2 separate regions of the Homo sapiens genome follow, and region 2 is linked to region 1. Evidence: promoter capture Hi-C in human tissues and cell types (Jung and others, 2019). All regions are on one chromosome and are shown on one strand. The core of a region is centred on a gene start or on the middle of the fragment in contact, and the rest is flanking DNA. Distances in the headings are between cores, read along the strand shown.

Region 1 (3,918 bases), core at 1,371-3,870:
TATAGTTATCCAACAGACACTAGCTGGCATGGGCTCTTACTGTGTGACTTTAGGCGAGTTACTTAACCTTTCTCTTGACGTTCCTTTTTTCACTTTTTTTTTTTTTTTTTGAGACAAGGCCTTGCTGGAGTGACAAGCTCATTAGGTTCCACAATTAGCCTTCTGCAATGTTGTCCAGGCTGGAGTACAGTGGCACAATCATAGCTCACTGCAGCCTCAAACTCCTGGGATCAAGTGATCCTCCAGCCTCGGGATTTTTTTCACTTTTATTATTTTATTTGTTTGTTTGTTTATTTATTTATTTATTTGAGATGGAGTCTCACTCTGCCTCCCAGGCTGGAGTGCAGTGGTGCGATCTCGGCTCACTGCAACCTCCGCCTCTCAGGTTCAAGTGATTCTCCTGCCTCAGCCTCCCGAGTAGCTGGGACTACAGGCACACGCCACCACACCTGGCTGATTTTTGTATTTTTAGTAGAGAGAGGGTTTCGCCATATTGGCCAGGCTGGTCTCGAACTCCTGACCTCAAGTGATCCTCCTGCCTTGGCCTCCCAAAGTGCTGGGATTACAAGCATGAGCCACTGCGCCTGGCACTTTTAAAACAGAGACAATACTTACCTCATAGGTTTATTGTGAGAGTGGCAACAGCTTGCAATGGGATGAGGCACATGGTAAGGTGCTCAATATGTGTGAACTATTATAACGGTCATAGTTACCATTAAGGGAAGACCTATCTGTGCTACATTAATGGGGGATAATAATTACTTTATTCGCTGGGCGTGGTGGTTCATGCCTATAATCCCAACACTTTGGGAGGCTGAGGCGGGAGGATCACTTGAGGCCAGGAGTTGGAGACCAGCCTGGGCAACATGGCAAAACCCCATCTCTACTAAAAATACAAAAACTAGCTGGGCGTGGTGGTGGGCGTCTGTAATCCCAGCTACTCGGGAGGCTGAGAATTGCTGGAACCTGGGAGGCAGAGGTTGCAGTGAGCCGAGATCACGCCATTGCATTTCAGCCAGGGCAACAAGAGCAAAATTCTGTCTCTAATAATAATAATAATAACAACAACAACAACAACAACAACAACTTCATTCAACCAAATACATTGTACATCTCACCTGGCCTGCCCATAAGCAATGGAGACACTGAAATAAACACGATTCCTGCCCTCAAGGTCTAATGGAGGAAAGAGATGTACACAGCTATTCTAGAGGGAAATTGACATGAACAGAAGTTCTCATCCTGTGCTCCAGGATCACACTGGAGGAGGGAGATGCTCCCAGAGGGTCTTGGGAAGGCTTTCCAATCTGGAGCTGGAAGAATGTTTGCCCAAGAGATGTACACAGTTATTCTAGAGGGAAATTGACATGAACAGAAGTTCTCATCCTGTGCTCCAGGATCACACTGGAGGAGGGAGATGCTCCCAAAGGGTCTTGGGAAGGCTTTCCAATCTGGAGCTGGAAGAATGTTTGCCAGAGATGAAAGGAGGGGAAGGGAATTCCGGGCAGAGGGAAGGGCGCAGGCAACAGCTAGGAGGCGCAGATGCAGGCTGGGTGTGGAGGGTGCGAGTAGGCTGGAGTACACCAGGGAGTTCCCAGCAGGCCACTAGGAGCCACCCAGGATGCCCGGCAACCTCATGAGTCAGACAAGCAGGGCTGTGTCTATCTGGAAGTTTCCAGCCAAGCTAGGTAAAACACATGGACACAGGTAACTATGCTGTAAAGCAAAATCCCCAAGTCCTACAATCGTGTCCCAGTGGTGTCCCTGGGCCACCACTTTCCAGAAGCAAAGTTATTTTCTCACCCCGTTGTTAAGCACACAGAATAGAGAAGGTACGGCCGCAATCCACCCAAGTGCCCACTGATTAGATAGGAACCCCCGAGGTGAGGCTGGAAGCTGGGGCCAGGAGCTCCACTCTTCCCAGGAGTCAGAGAAGTGAGTTCATTTGCTGGCTTTTTAGTTCCTAATAAGTCCCTGGGGCTTTTCGGGATGCTTAAGCCAAGGGCGTGGGGCCGAGAGCGACACTAGGATAACACTAGGCAAGGCTGAGCAACCCAGGCTACCAACAGCACGGACTTGAACCGGGTCGCATGCCGGAGCGGACGGGATGAGGTGCACCGCAGAACTGGGGACTCCTGGTGCCGGGACGCGGCGGGCTGGGGCGCCCCACTCTCGGGGCAAGTCTGCAATGCCCGGTGCCCACAAAAAGGACACATCCATCTTTGTCACCCCGAGGCCTGGCACGGCCTGACGGCCCAGGCTCGGTAAAAGTCGGGCGGAGAGAGTGGAAGCGCAGAGAAACCCGGGGAGGGCGCTTAAGAACGGGCCAGGGCGCCCGGCTGGGCTGCCCTGCCTCTCGGGCGCCGGCCAGGCGTCCCGGCCGCCCCACCACGCCGTCGGAGCGCGCCGAAGCTCAGCCCGGGGCGGGCGGGCCAGGAGAGGGCCCGGGGCCCCTGCCGCCGCGGCGCCCCCTCCTGCGCACCCGGAGGGAGAGGCCGCGCGCGCCCGCCCGCTCTTTCTGCGCGCGGCCCTCCCCGCTGCCCCCGCCCTCGCGCCCTGTTTGGAGGGAGCCACCCTGACGTCGGAGCCGCTCCCCCGCGCCGCGCGCCCGCCCGGGGCCGCAGACAGCGCGCAGCGCAGCCCAGCCGAGCGTCGCGGGGCCGCCCCCCGCCCTGCCGGCCGCCTCGCCGAGCCTCCTGGGGCGCCCGGGCCCGCGACCCCCGCACCCAGCTCCGCAGGACCGGCGGGCGCGCGCGGTAAGTCCCGCCCGGGTCGGCACGCGGGCGCCCGGCTTCCAGAGGCTTCGGCCGCGGGGGCAGTGCCGCGCCCCCAGCCCGGAGCTGCGTCCCCCGGCGCGTCCGGCGGCCGCGGGCACCGGGTGGAGGCGCCGCCGCCGAGCTCAGGAGCCCTGGGGGACCTGGCGGGCGCCTCCGGACGCCGGCGCTGGGGACGTGGGCGCGGCACGGGGTGGCCGGGGGGCACCGCCGCGTCCGGAGCCCGTCCCCAGACTCGCCCCAGGGTTCCGTTTCTGGATCGGAGTTTCCGCGGCCGGGGGAGAGAGGGAGCGAGGGAGGGAGATGCGTGGCCGGGCGGGCCGGGCTCGCATGTCCCCCGGCCGTGCCCGGGCCTCGCCGCGCCGCGCCTCTCGGCTCTGGACGTTTCCGCCTCCCGCGGCCCCCTCTGCTTCGGTCCCCACGTCCGTGTGTCTGTCTCTCCGTCGCTCCGTTTCCGCCGCTCACTTTCCCCTGGTCTGCCCGTCTCTTTCCGTTCCCCGCCTGCCTCCGTGTTCGGCTGCCCGCGTTTGTGTCTCTGCCTCTGGCTTTTCTCTCCCTCTCTCTGTCTCTGCGCTGCCCTCTGTGGGGGTCTCGCCCTGTGTCTGCGCCTCTCCCTGATCCCCCGCCCTCCGATCCAGACAATCCCCCAGTGTCGGAGGCTCGCCTTCCCCCAGCGGGGTTCACGAATAGTTTCCTAGACCGGGTGCGGCAAACCCTCCCCCTGCCTCCCGCCGGCCCCGAGGCCTGGCCCGGGTCATCTCCCTGGAATTGAGTCTGGGGCAGGGAGAGCCAGCCTTTCCGGGGGCTCAGTTTTCTTAAGAATTCCACCCCCGCGAGGCCGGCTGGACGACAGGCCCTGCTGCGGGCCACCTGCCCGGCCCGCTCCCAGGGCGGGGCGATTCTGATCGTTTACAAGCGGCGGCAAAGGGGGCAGCCGCCTGCCTTGGCGTGGCCGGAGGTTGGCGGGCATCAAGGGAGAAAGCCACACTTCCAGGCTTTCGGAGGCCCTCGCTCCCCAAGCTGGACGCCACCAGCCTGTAACTAGGGGCACCCCAGGAAAACAGAGGTCAGGGCTGGAGGCCAAAGACCGGGCGCTGGCGGGGAAGCAATTTGTCAACAAGGAGCCCCTCACCCTTTGTTACTG
Region 2 (4,198 bases), core at 384-2,883, 1.0 Mb before region 1:
CCCACAGTCCCTCAATGTCTTGGGCCTGACGTGCAGTCCAGCCCATCTGGCACAACTGACCCCCAAAGGAAGCATTCAGATCCTTCATCCCCTCAGGGAGCTGGGGGTCTCTAGGGCCCTCCTGGGTCCCAGAGCTCTCTCTGCCGGCCACAGCAGTTGTGGGCCCACCTGCCTTTCCCAATGGGAGCAATACAGCCTTTCTGAAAGTCTCTCTAAGGTCTCTGCCTCCTTCCTCGGAGACTGCTGGCGTCCTTGTCTTGGCCCAGGTCCTCACCTTCCTCCTTCGGCTCCCTTACCCCTCCCCACCTGCCCACCCCCACACTGCCCCCTTCACCCATCAGAAGTTAATTCCTCAGAAACTTTCCTTGGGAGCAATTTCCACTTCTTATTATGCCCGCTGCGCCGGCCCAGCTCGGTGCTATCTGGCTCTGTACAGCAGGGAAGACGGTCTGACACTTGCCTGGAATAGCAGAGGTGATGGAGAGGGGGGCGGCTCCTGGGATTACGATAAGGGCTCACAGGCCGCTTGGTATGCCAGCCCAGGCCGCACGCTTTACCTTCCATATTGGGGTGATAAAGATGATTTTCCATGCTGGTCCCTATCGCCTATCAAGACCAAACATTCAAATACAGCCCTACGTTTTAAACTCTGCAGCACCCTGCAACACACCGCCTCCTCCAAAGGAAATGGAACCTTATGATTTGAAAGGTAAAAAAAAAATTAATTGAAGTAGCCAGGTCAATCCCTCCCTATCAACTCCTGGATTTAATGAAAAAATGGAGACCCATTTTGAAGGCAAGTGTGCTTATGGGGGGCAGAAAGAGAGAGACGGGGACTGGGAGGTATTTGGCCAGCTTCGAGAAAGCCCCATGCATGCCTTCAGGAGGGTTCCAGACAAGGGCACCCTGTCCCAACCCACTTGTAGGTGCCCTGGCCTCAAAGTTGTAAAATCCCAGCCAAGGAGGAAGACCTTGACCCAAAAGAGAGGTGCCAGGTTGGAAGAAGCAGGAGGGGTGGGGGTGGAGGAGGGAGCGTGACTTCACTTCCCATCGTAATAAAATTTTACCAAAGAAGAAAGAGGCTTCAGGAAGGTTTGGCTTCTGTTTATATTATTATTATCATTTGAGGATTTCAGAATTGTTTCCTGGGTTCGGAGTCTGTCAGCAGAATATTTATTGTACTTTATGGTACATTAGTAACAAGATTGTCTTCCCTTTCCACCGCCAACTTCAAACCCCCTGTCATTCTGGAGGGAGAGGGTATTAAGGAGGAGGATTTCTTTTTTGCCAAAGTCAGCAGCTATGGCAGAGATGCCCCCAACTCCCGGAACTCCAGCTGCCTTGGCATCGCCCACGGGGCCGGGGGAGGAGTAGGGGAAGCGGCTAAGCTTTCAGGCTTTGTACCCTGGCTGGGCCTGGCACCACCATCATCCTTGTTCCTCTTGGTCATCGTGCACCCCGTGCACCTGCACCTGGCACCTCCTGAACTCTTCAGAGGGCTGCTGGGAGCACTGCAGGAAGAGGCCCTGCCTGCTGTGTCTCCCCATCCCCAGAGGGGCACCGCACCCCAGCACAGCCTCAGCACCAGCCACAAATTACAGCCTGGACAACCGTGGATTGCTGGCCTGCAGGAAGGGGACGGAGTGGGGCGCCAGGGATGAGGAGGCGGCGCCATCCCCCCTCCTGCAGGAGCAAAGGGACAAAGGGGCTGGAACAGAGAAGCTGGCTGCCTAGCCAGCTACCCTGCCCACAGCAGCTTCTCCTACAGGTTTTACAAGTCTGCCCTGGAGGCGGGGAGAAACGTGGCCACAAGCCATTAATTACAAATTGGTTCAGGGAGGGAAAGGCTGGAGAAGGGGTTTCCACATCAGCTCCTACCTCAGCTGGGAATTCCTCCTCTTTCTGGAATGGGTCCTGCAGCAAGCTCTGGGCTGGCAGAGGGGTCCCAGCACCTGCCCCGCTGGGTGTTTGCCTGTCGCGCCTCTGTGGGCCTCATTTTTCCTCACCTGTCAACCAAGGGATTGGATGAGATCAGCTCTAGAGATATTCCTAATTCTGGTAATAACAACAATGGTAAGAGCTGCCACAGGCATTACCTCATTGAATCCTCCAACAACACTGTGAGCTGGGTCCTATTACTATCTTCACAGTGCAGGTGAGGGAGCAGGAGGAGCAGCGAGTGTGGTGGCCTCAGAGGAGGCAGAGTCAGCCTTGTCGTTTGGTAGGTAGTGGCAGTTGGTGCCTGGAGTCCTGCCTGACTCCAGAGCCCCCCTCGTGACGCTCAGCATAATGGCCTCTGACAATTCTGCAGGTCTAGGATTATACATTTATCTTCCAACTTTTCCTCATCAACTAAAAATAAAGAAAGAAATGTGTCTAGAATCTTAAAAACTTCAGGATGAGTTCCTGGGCAGCAGCAGGACTCTCCGTGCCCATGCAGACATCAGCAGCAGTGTGGGAAAATCCAGGCCTGGGCCTCTCTTCTAGGAGGTGGAGAGGCTGTGGAGAAGGCAGCCAAGCCCAGTTAGTACCCCAGGGGCACCATGGTCCACCACCTTCCCTCCTCTTCCAGAATCCCGCATCTTGCCAGGCCCAAATCTCCTCGCTCTGGACCACTCTCAAGAGAGGTGGGATGTTGCAGGGTACAATTCCGTGTTGGGGGGCGGCCTTAGCCTTACCAGCTAGATGCCAGGGGCACCCCCAACCGCAGTTGTGACAACTTTCCCAGGTATTCCAATTGTCCACTGGGGGGGGCGGGGGGGCGGGGAGGGGGGCAAAATCATCGCCCAGTTGAAAAGCATTGCTCTAGTAGTTAAAAGTATGGGGCCAAGTTACCTCAGTTCAAAATCCCCTTCTGCCACGTAGAGTGTGGCATTTGGCAAGCTGCTCGACCTATCCAAAGCTCAGTCTCCCCATCCGTCAAATGGACGTCATAATGATTACAAGGATGAGGACTTGACAAGAGAAAGCCAACTCTGAGGACTTGACAAGAGAAAGCCTGTGCTGTGCACACAAGGCCCTTAGCCTAGAGCCTGGAAATGGCCTTAACCAAAGGAGATGGTCATAGGATGGGAGAAGCAACAGCGTCACCCAGAGAAGAGGAGCTTCACTGATAGAAATCACCAGACTTGGGTCTGGTGTCATCATAGGTTGGGCACAGCACAGCCTGAAAATTTGTCTGCAGACTTTGAGACCCTGGCTCTGAAGGCCCTGGTAGTCACCTTGCCTGGTCCTTTAACCAAAGACCCCACATCAAGATTTGCCTCATTTCATTAGATCATAAGTTATCCACCAGGGGCAGTATTCACTCACAGAGGACATTTGGCAATGTCTGGAGACATTTTTTATTGTCACAACCAGAAAGAGGAGTAAGTGGGAGTGCTATTGGCACCTAATAGGTAGAGACCAGGGATGTTCTAAACACCCTACAATTCAGAGAACAGCCATCAGAGCAAAGAATTGTCCAGGCCAACATGTCAGCGGTGTCCATATTGAGATACTCTACATCAGACTGATTCTACTCACTTTCTTTCCCTTTTTGCCTTGGCCACCAGGAAGCTCAAAGCAAAGTTTTATACTCAACTGCCATAGCTGTTTTCATTCTTGGTTTCCAATTCAACTATTTATCTCCCCAGCTCTCATCTTTAATGACTCTATATGTTCTTTTATCCTTCTTTCAATAGGCCTATAGGATTTTTGTTTTGTTTTAATCATGCTTTACTCTTTTAGGAAGAAGATGGTATATACACCAAAAGCCAAACTAATCTCTGTTGCTTCTTTTTAGGTGATTAAAAATGTTTGATGTGTGGTTTGCACTTTCTTTTGTAAGTTATTTTATCCTCTCAACAGCCAAATAAAGCACATGTGTGAAGAAACTGAGGCTCAGCCAGGTGATTCTGTGAGTAAATAATGAAGCTAGAACTTAACAAAACAAGTGAAATGTCAGAGACTAAATGAACCATATTAACCTGCTTAGATGGGCAATAGTAATCATTCTTAATGTATTCATGCTAATTAACCAATTAATCCCTACAGCAACCTTTTAAAAACATAACACCATTTCCTTTTTAAAGATGAGAAAACCCAACACCCCCAGCCAACGTGGATGACTAAATTAGACAGTCTCATCCGAAAGCCACTTGATTAATTCTGCCATCCACACAGACTAAGTTATCCAGATGATTGGCACATGTGAGGC

What was found. Contacts are between HindIII fragments. The study calls those that stand out against the background at their distance.
Region 2: a fragment that was not itself captured here is called in contact with the fragment with the promoter of NBL1 in region 1 in 1 of the 25 tissues and cell types used here (pancreas).

What each region holds. Positions count from the first base shown.
Region 1 is chr1:19,641,691-19,645,608 of GRCh38, forward strand. It overlaps NBL1 (NBL1, DAN family BMP antagonist), which reads left to right and starts at 2,621. Exons shown (of 4, transcript NM_005380.8): 1 at 2,621-2,756. All of the region lies in intron 1 of MICOS10-NBL1 (MICOS10-NBL1 readthrough), which reads left to right. RefSeq lists an enhancer at 1,633-2,468 and a silencer at 2,367-2,706. The HindIII fragment of the contact is 7,978 bases long and covers 1-3,600 here.
Region 2 is chr1:18,605,440-18,609,637 of GRCh38, forward strand. No RefSeq gene overlaps it. Among named protein-coding and RNA genes, the nearest start is that of PAX7, 23 kb to the right of the region's middle. The HindIII fragment of the contact is 8,128 bases long and covers 1-4,198 here.